Regions from separate parts of the Homo sapiens genome. Here region 2 is linked to region 1. Evidence: promoter capture Hi-C in 16 types of primary human blood cells and fetal thymus (Javierre and others, 2016). All regions are on one chromosome and are shown on one strand. The core of a region is centred on a gene start or on the middle of the fragment in contact, and the rest is flanking DNA. Distances in the headings are between cores, read along the strand shown. Region 1 holds the start of SNX9 (sorting nexin 9). Region 2 has its middle 12 kb from the start of TMEM242-DT.

Evidence for each region. Contacts are between HindIII fragments. The CHiCAGO score rates a contact against its expected background, and 5 or more counts as called.
Region 2: a fragment that was not itself captured here is called in contact with the fragment with the promoter of SNX9 in region 1 in 1 of 17 cell types (naive B cells); the score reaches 5.1 in naive B cells.

The regions. Positions count from the first base shown.
Region 1 is chr6:157,820,682-157,825,717 of GRCh38, forward strand. It overlaps SNX9 (sorting nexin 9), which reads left to right and starts at 2,565. Exons shown (of 18, transcript NM_016224.5): 1 at 2,565-2,765. The coding sequence starts at 2,754. RefSeq lists a silencer at 2,374-2,693 and an enhancer at 3,344-3,393. The HindIII fragment of the contact is 6,514 bases long and covers 1,860-5,036 here.
Region 2 is chr6:157,333,016-157,337,495 of GRCh38, forward strand. No RefSeq gene overlaps it. Among named protein-coding and RNA genes, the nearest start is that of TMEM242-DT, 12 kb to the left of the region's middle. The HindIII fragment of the contact is 5,103 bases long and covers 1-4,080 here.

The DNA of each region.
Region 1 (5,036 bases), core at 1,315-3,814:
TTTTTTTTTTTTTTTTTTTTTGAGTCGGAGTCTTGCCCAGGCTGGAGTGCAGTGGCTCGATCTCGGCCCACTGCAACCTCCGCCTTCCGGGTTCAAGTGATTCTCCTGCCTCAGCCTCCTGAGTAGCTGGGACTACAGGCGCGTGCCACCATGCCCAGCTAATTTTTGTATTTTTAGTAGAGACGGGGTTTCACCATGTTGGCCAGGATGGTTTCGATCTCTTCACCTCGTGACCCGCCCGCCGCAGCCTCCCAAAGTGCTGGGATTACAGGCGTGAGCCACAGCGCCCGGCCATGTTTATCTCTGTTTATGTACTTTTTCATTTGTTTTTCACAGTCTTGCTCTTTTTAAAACAACAACAACAACAAAAAACTTCTAGAAATGAGGTCTCACTATGTTGCCCAGGCTGGTGTTGAACACCTGGGCTTAAGCAATCCTTCCACCTTAGCCCTCCACCATTACTTCTAAAAAATAAAACCAGGGTTATGAAATTGTTCTGGTGGGAAAAGCTTGAAGTCTCTAGTCTTCTTGCTTTCATGGTGCTGGGTGCCCAGGATGACTATTTGCATAGGATTTGCCAGATGAGCATGTGGAAAGGCCTGTCTTCACAGGTGTGCCCCTAACTTTGCACCTTCCTATCAAGGGATGCATTGTTGAACGGCTGCAGAGAGAGCTGTACCCAGCCTTCACATTTAAAAGAATATGGAAAACTCATTACTTATGACATTGCCTGAGTTCAAATCCTGGCTTTTCCACATACTAGTGTGTGCTCTTAGCCAAGTTATTTCTTCCATTGTTTATTAAAATATAACTGCTGTTTTTAAATGAAGTCATATATACACATGGTCAAAAACTCTGACAACAGGATCTGGCGAATCTTTCTCAGAAATTTTCTAGGAATGTGTCACATATTTCCTTTTTTTTTTTTTTTTTACATAAATGTACCATACATAATGTTCTTTTTATCTTTCTTAACACCTCTTAGAATATTATCATTTTCTTACGGGCTTCCTAGTATTTTTGTTTGAATGGATGTATCTTATTTACTGAAACAGTCCTGTTAACAAACACATAGGTTGCTTTCTGGTTGGAGTTATTACAGAACAATCTTTGATGAACATCTTTGAACACTTGTACAAGTGTTTGACAGGATAAATTCCCAGGAGGGCTGCTGGGTCCAAGGCTACGGTCATTTTCGATTTGAATAAGTATTACCAAATGGGCAAGTTATTTAAGTGATCCCTGAGTCGCTCTTCTTTGTAAACAGTGGACAATAATGAGTTTCTCAAATGTTTCTTATAAGGATTAAATGAGATGGGGATGTGGAAGCCTAGTATACAGCAAGCAGGCCGTCAATGAATGTTGGCCTCCCAATATTTTTTTTTACGGAGAAAGACAACTATTTATGCATATTATGATGACTATAGCTTAACCATGAGCTCAACAAACACAAAAATTCACAGAAAATTCTGCAATACCGTATCTATTTTAAACCCCATTATTGAATATAACTAGTGAAATCTCAGGTCAAATAGAATGTATTTAAGAAGACACAAACTTGACATTAAACACCAGAGATTTACATTTGATAGTTGTCTCTTCTTACAAATATATCCCTCATAATAATAAAAAAGCACTCCACTAGTATGCCAATTAAGACACATCTTCCAGTCGTGTTTTGTCCTTGAGTGAAAAATCTTGCTGCTCAATTCAAGTCATTCGTTTATTCATAACACCCATATATATATCTCCAACTCTGGAAAGAAACACTGACAGAAAGATGGAAAATTTTAGAGACCTCGTTTCCACTTCAGAGAGCCTGTTGTCCCCCAAACCTCTCGGGCCCTCCGGTATTTTTAAGCTTATCAAGATTCCAGAATGAGGTTAACGGGGCGTCACAGAACGAAACCCCCCACCGTCCCGTCCCAGGGGCTTCAAGCCAGGACCCCGGCCTGAGGGAGCCTCCGGGCAGGAGGAAGAGGCCCAGGAAGCCATCGCTCCGCTCCTTCCCAGCTGTTTATGTGGTACTCAGGGTACTCGGCCAAGGGCACGGCGACCCCGCAACACCCCAGGCGTGGGGCAAAGACAGCGGGGTTGCGGGGCTCCTGTCTGCCCGGGGCGTCGAGAGTTCCTGCCGCCCCCTCCCGCCTCATGCACGGAAAGCGCCGAGCCACGGCGTGCGGCGCCGGCCGAGCGTGAACCGGAGTCGGGGTTCGGCTACCCCGAGCGGCTCTGTGGGCCGCGGATCGCTTCCCCTGGGGCGGCCACGCAGGGTTGCGGGCCATGGCCTGGGGCGCCCGTCCGGACCCCGCCGCTGCGCGGGACGCCGCTCCCAGCCTCGACCAAGGGCGCCCGGGGGCGGCGGCGGCGGCGGCGGCGGTGACTGCCCGGGGCGGCGGCGCGGCGCGGGGGCGGCCAGGAGGCGAGGAGGCCGGGCCGCGGCCGAGGGCCCAGGGCGCGCTTCCGGCGGGCGTCGCGCGCGCCGCGGTAAATGGGAGGCTCGGCCGACAGGGGCGGGGGCCGCGCAGCCGGGGACTTTCAGGAACTGCAGGAGCGTGCGGCGCGGGAGTAGCCGAGCGCCCAGCGGCTGGGCCTGAGCGTCGAGACTCGGGGCCGAGGCGGAGGAGCGGCCGCCGCGCCGGGGCCCAGCCGGAGCCGCCGCCCTCGCCCTTGCCTTTGCCTGCGCGGCTCAGAATCACCATCCGCGGCGCGGGAGACGAGCCGGCCGTCCCGGGCCGGGGGACCCGCCCGCCATGGCCACCAAGGTGAGGGGCGCGCGGCGCAGGCCGGGCCGGTCGCTCAGGCCCGGGGCGGCGCGGAGAGGGTCGGGGCCGGGGCCGCGGGGAGGGTCGGGGCCAGGGGTGGTCGAGGGGCCACTCCGCTTCCTCGGTGGAGTCCCCGGGCGGGTCCGCGGCCCAGCCAGTCCCTTCTGGGCATGGGTGCGGCGGGCAGTGCAGACAGACCACCAGGATCGCACCGGGGGACGGCGTCGGGTCTGGGCGCGGGTTGGGACCCCGGGCGCAGCGAGGTTTGGGAAGTTTGCACCTGAGCGTGGGCTGCGGCGGGCTCGCCGGGAGGGGCCGCGGGACGGAAACTTCCCGCAGCCCGGGGAGGCCCCCGAGGCGACTGGCGCTCTGTGGCGTCCGGCGTCCCCGCCGCCCCCACGTCCCCTCCCGCTGCCGCCTGGGGGACCCTCGCCCCCGCGGGGCGGGTGGGGGTCGAGACCTCGGCGGAGAGGACGCGGCGCTTCCCGTCCCGGCCTGCGGGGGCTCGCGGCCGGGGAGGGACCGAGGCTGGGACGCCCCGCGCCCCTTTGCCTTCGCTGCTGTTATTTTTTTCTTTTGTTTTGCTACCTTTTCATTGTGAATGGCATTGCCGGCATGAATAAAATATCAAGAGGGAAATGACTGTGCTTTCGATTACGTGTTTGCCTGAAAAAAGGCCCAGGCCCGAATTACGTGGTGGAACTTTGACTCCTGCTTCGTCATTGGCTAGGAGCGGTGGTTTGCTTGTTTTACGTTATTGTTTATGAAATTAGCAGTCACTCTTGGCTACCTGAATTTTCAAAAGCCACCCTCCCCCGCTCCTTTTCCTTGGGCGTTTTCAGTAGTTACTTGATGTAGAATAGCCACTGGGGAAGTCACGGTCACGGAAGGGAGGACCTGGGGGAGGAGGCTCTATACCTGAGCCATTAACTGATCTGTGATACACTGTGAGGAGTGGGTTTACTTTTGCACTTAGTTTTTGTAATGTCACTTTGTTAGCATCAGCACCCCTTTGTCTATTTGTTTTTGAGATCTCTGAGCTACTTTTGGGTTGCTAGAAACGTTATTTTTTATTTTTCGATAGGTGTTTGCTTTTTTTGTGGAGTGTTAAGGTAGAAAATGGTAAGAAATGTGAAATCTCTTTGAAAGATCAGCATTGCTTGACTTCGGTCTGCTAGATGTTGTGCTGTGGTAAATTTTGTGCTCTGAATCCATCTAGGTGCAGCGTTTGTAGAGAAATGGGGATTCTCCTCCAGGGAACCTGTTGCTGCTGTTACTGAAATAATTACCTTCTTGTTAATATATTATTGCCTGTGCTGTGCTTTGGTTTTATTAATGCGATAGAACTTGCCACCTTTTTAACGTATTAATTTTGTGTTGACCTTTTTAAAAATAAAACTTAGGCCAAGGATTTCTAAGGAAATTTGATTTTGAGGTTTGTTGCCAGACATTCCAGAAATTACCAGTTACACATCCTAGTACATGCTCATCTTGCAACCTTAAAAGCGGTTTATAGGCCGGGCGCGGTGGCTCACTCCCACCTGTAATTCCAGCACTTTGGGAGGCCGCGGTGGGTGGTTCACCTGAGGTCGGGAGCTCGAGACAAGCCTGGCCAATATGGTGAAACCCTGTCTCTACTAAAAATACAGAAATTAGCTGGGCGTGGTGGCGCGCGCCTGTAGCCCCAGCTGCTCTGGAGGCTGAGGCAGGAGAATCGCTTGAACCCGGGAGGCGGAGGTTGCAGTGATCCGAGATCGCGCCACTGCACTCCAGCCTGGGCGACAGAGCGAGACTCCGTTTGAAAAAAGAAAAGACGAGACTCCGTTTGAAAAAAGAGAAGACGGTTTATGACATAGAGATCTGTCTAGTGGTGGTCAGTGTGTTTTTACACTCTGGTCTACTGAGGCATGTTATCTGTACTGTCCTTTAAGTGGAATGCAGTTTAGCAACTAGTGCAGGTATATATAGTGAAATTTTTATTTCATAGTTAATCCTGAACTTAATTTTTTTCCAAAAAATCGAAAAGTGGTTCTTGTATATTAATCTCGAATTGCATGTGTCTTTGATTAAACACGAGCCTTAAAGCATGCGTAAGGACTTCCTACTTCGTTATCTACACCACTCCAAAGGCAAATTCCAGTAGTTCTGTTAGTTTCTTTCGGCTGCCTAATCACTGTTCCACATGGTGCTCATTTCCATGTTTACATTGTGACAAACCATTTCCATTTTAAGAAAAAGAAGAGCAACGAAGCAGTTATTAAAAGAAGACCC
Region 2 (4,480 bases), core at 279-2,778, 490 kb before region 1:
AGCCCATAGGGTACCGTGAGCTGAGTGGCTGGTGGTACTTCCTAATATTACTAACATAACGATTCTCTCTGAAACCCCAGCCTCGCCCCAGCCCACTGTGTGTTCCACTCCAGGAGTCAGATCTGATTCTAGGTCCTGGTTTTTTCCTGTGTGCGCTGCTCTGTTGTAGTGGCTGCACCCATAGCTGACCACATCACAGATGGGTCACATGGAGCTCTGGACAATACTCTTCCCCAGCTGATCTTTGACAAGGTCCTTCCTTTCATCCCTTTATCAATAAGATTGGTTACGTTTGAAGCTGATTGACCACCTATGCCTAAAGAAGAGTGATTTATGTATCACCTGGAAGGAGACACCCGAGGTCACGCCACAGGTCTCTCCTCAGCCCTGGCCATTTCAACGTATTTATATGCAACTTGGACCTAGAGCTAGAAGGCAGGCTATTAAATTTTATGTAAGGCACAAAACAAGAAGGTTTGGTTATTTAATGAATGAGATGAATGACAGAAATGTCTCAAAATTACTTAGCTAGACAAGAACAAAAGTCAATCACACATAAAATGAACTTTAACAGGAATAAATCAAATTTTCAGAAAATACACAAGTGCAGGATGGGAGAGATTTGGCCTGAAGCACTTCCTGAGACAAAGAAATGGACAATTTAGTTGGCGATAATGCTGAAACAGTGGAGGTCATTGTGCGTCTGCCTAGGAGAAGTCTCTCCCACTCATTCCCATCTGTTCTGGGGGCCACTGTGGAGGAAGCGTCCTCCAAGAGCAGGCAGGCGAAGGGGAGTGACAAGGAGGGTGAGAAGTCTTAGCCAGCTTATCTAAGAAGAAATCATTGAGGGAGATATATTTAGGTTGGAGAGAGAAGAATTGGGAAGCTGATGCCTCTCTCAGGAGGCACAGAGAGAAGTTATATTGGGTAGATCATGTCTCTACACATGAGAACTTTTAAAAATTTGAAATGTCCCCAAAATGGAATTAGGTACTTTCTGAGCAAAAAATGAACATCTTTGTATGTCAACAAATATACCTCTACAACAGAGGTTCATAAATACATTTTTTTGTATTAATATGTACAAAGCGATGTAGAAGACATTCCTCCACTGAGGGACAGGTTAGAACTTGCAAGGTGGCTTATGCCACACAACATGGGCCAGCTCAGCTCCGCTGTCTCTGAAACTTTCTTTTGTCAGCAGAGCAAGAGTAGATTTATCTCTCAGGGGAAAAATTACGTTAATTAGGCTCATGAGTGAATGCCAGCTTAATATAGTATAATGAAAAATATGGCAAAAGAACCATAATGGGAAGCCAGATAACAATCAAAGTTGCAGGGGACACCCCCCTCTTGGAGGTTCTGGCAGATTAATTGGACATATAATAAGTAAGGAAAAACGTTTAGAATGATTGAGGATTCAGTGAAGTTTCCAGCTGTAAAAGAAATCTTAATAAAAGTTTCAACTTTTCTATACATTAGCTATACCCCATTAAAATACAAAACAGAGGGGAAGAAATCCACTATGTGATGATCACAACACTTTACTGACATAAACAAGAAGACTTGCCTCCATCATGCTTCTGCCCTAGAAGTCTTTTCTTTTTTCTTTTTTCCTTTTTTTTTTTTTTTTTTTTTTGAGACGGAGTCTCGTTCTGTCGCCCAGGCTGGAGTGCAGTGGTGTGATCTCGGCTCACTGCAACCTCTGCCTCCCAGGTTCAAGCGATTCTCCTGCCTCAGCCTCCTGAGTAGCTGGGATTACAGGCGAACGCCACCATGCCTGGCTAATTTTTTTGTATTTTTAGTAGAGACGGGGTTTCACCGTGTTGGTCAGGCTGGTCTGAAACTCCTGACCTCGTGATCGGACGCCTCGGCCTCCCAAAGTGTTGGGATTACAGGCATGAGCCACCACGCCCGGCCTAGAAGTCTTAATCACACAGGTTGTTAATTCTTCTCCTTTATGTTATAAATGTAATGCAATTCCTGTTAAAATCCAAATAAGATCTTCTTTTGTTGTTGTTGTTTGTTTTGTTTTGTTTTGTTTGAGATGAAGTTTCACTCTTGTCACCCAGGCTAAAGTGCAATGGCGCCATCTAGGCTCACTACGCCCTCCGCCTCCCGGATTCAAGCGATTCTGCCTCAGCCTCCCAAGTAGCTGGGACTACAGGCGCGGGCCACCATGCCTGGCTGATTTTTATATCTTTTAGTAGAGACAGGGTTTCACCATGTTGTCCAGGCTGGTCTTGAACTCCCGACCTCAGGTGATCCACCTGCCTGGGCTTCCCAAAGTGGTGAGATTACAGGCATGAGCCACCATGCCCTGCCTCAAATAAGATTACTTTTAAACCTTGTTAGAATGATTCAAAATTCATCTGAATAATAAACATTCAAGAAAGGTCAACATTTTGTTGAGAAAGCACTATGATGAGAGGGACTTGCCTCACAATGTTAAAATGCATGGTACTTTGCATTAATTAAAGTACTAGCTATAGCACAGAATAGGAATCTAGATCTGCAGAACAGAATAGTACCGGCCAAAACGCACTTCAGTGCATCTCATAGCTTAGTGAAGAAGTGGAGTATTTCAAATCAGAGGAGAAAGTTCAAAAAGGATTTGGGGACAAAATGAAACAATAAAAATAATGGAAAAAATATAGATGAATATCTACCGAAATAAGTTGGTAAATAAGTTGGGAAGAACTTTTAAAGCATGAAACCGAAGAAATAAATGTAGGTCAGTTTGACTACATAAAGTCTTAACACTGCTCTACAGCAGACAGATTAAGTTTGCTCACTTAATCCTATGCCTCCTTCGCCCTTGCCAGCCTCTTCCTAACTGTTGGGAGTGGCCATGAAATCGGTTCTGGCCAATAAGACATAAGCAAAGGTCGGCTGGTCTTGTCTCTTCCTCCACTCTTCTTCCTTCTGCCTGGAACACAGACCTGGTGGCTAGTTCTGCAGCGGCCATTTAATGATGATAAGGTAACAAATGGGAGGGGCTACGAGAGGACAGGGACGTGAGCTGTCACATTGTCAACTGTCTGAATCAGGTCCAACAGCTGCCTCTCTATGAGATGCTTGTTACATGAGATAATAAGTCCCCCTTAAGAGAGTGGAGCTGAGTTTTCTATTTCCTGAAGTTAAATTCATTCCTAACTGATTCTGAGCTTAAGGCAAAACACCATATTGCAGCAAAAGGCAAATAACAAAAATATTTGTACGATGGATCACAAAAGTTCATATCCTTATTCGTATAAGGACCTCTGTAAATAAGCAAGAAAGCTCTAGATATCCCATTGTTTAAAAAGGGGGCAAAGATTATGAATAGGAAGATTTTAAAAACAAGAAATTCGAGTGTCTAAGAAATTCATGAAAAAATTTCAACCTCATGACAAATTAAAACAATAGCCTAATGATTGATTCATCACCTATAAAACTGGCAAACACTGGAAAAATTACAGGATTATTTTCTGGAAAGCAATCTGGCAAAATGTATCAGAAGTTTTGGAATGTCCATGCCCTTTGAGAATCTGTGCAGGGAAATGGTTAAGGAGTTGCAAAGATTTGCTACAAGGATGTCTCCAACAATGCTGTTAATAATTGCAAAAGGATGGAAATGAAAGAAATATGCATGAGAGCTTTGTTAAATAAATTATAGGATTGCCCCCCATCAAAAATAATATGTAATTATGAACCTGCTGTCACAGAGGTATATTTGTTGATATACAAAGATGTTCATTATTCATTATTGAGTGAACAGCAAGTTGAACCCCACCCCAAAATAGAAACCTTTCTATTTTTGTTAATATGTATATTTGTATATTTCTGTGTGTGAAAAATGGCATGGAAGAAAATCTATCAAGGCATTAATGTTATCCCTGGGCTTGGCCCATATTTTCTGATGATTTCTGTTATAAACATGTATTACTTTTGAAATAAAATTATTCCTATAAAAATATTTCTTGGTAAATACGGAATTGAAACATGGGGAATTAGAATTGATTATTTAAAGGCATCAGGCTGAGATAAGCTGAGGTGTTTGTTTCACAGTAAGGATATCTAAACATTCCAAGCAATTCAAGCTTGTTCTTCTGCAAGGGAATTCATTGAGCACTCTTGATGTCTGCTTTGATGATGAGCTTTGGTGGCCTTTTCTGACGAGCGCATTTTGCTTCAGATAGTTTGATATACTCAATCCAGCCAAAGCCAAGTCCTCCAGCTCTCAGGATACTTCTGGGTTTTGTTTTGCTTTGGGTTTTCGTTTTGAGACAGGGTCTCCCTCTGTCGCCCAGGTTAGAGTACAGTGACACAACTTGGGCTCACTGCAACCTCCGCCTCCCAGGCTCAAGCAGTCCTCCCACCTCAGCCTCCCAAGTAGCTGGGACTACAGGCATGAGCCACCATACCTGGCTAATTTTTGTATTTTTTTTGTAGAGATGGGGTTTTGGCATATTGCCCAGGCTGAGGGTACTTCTGTTTT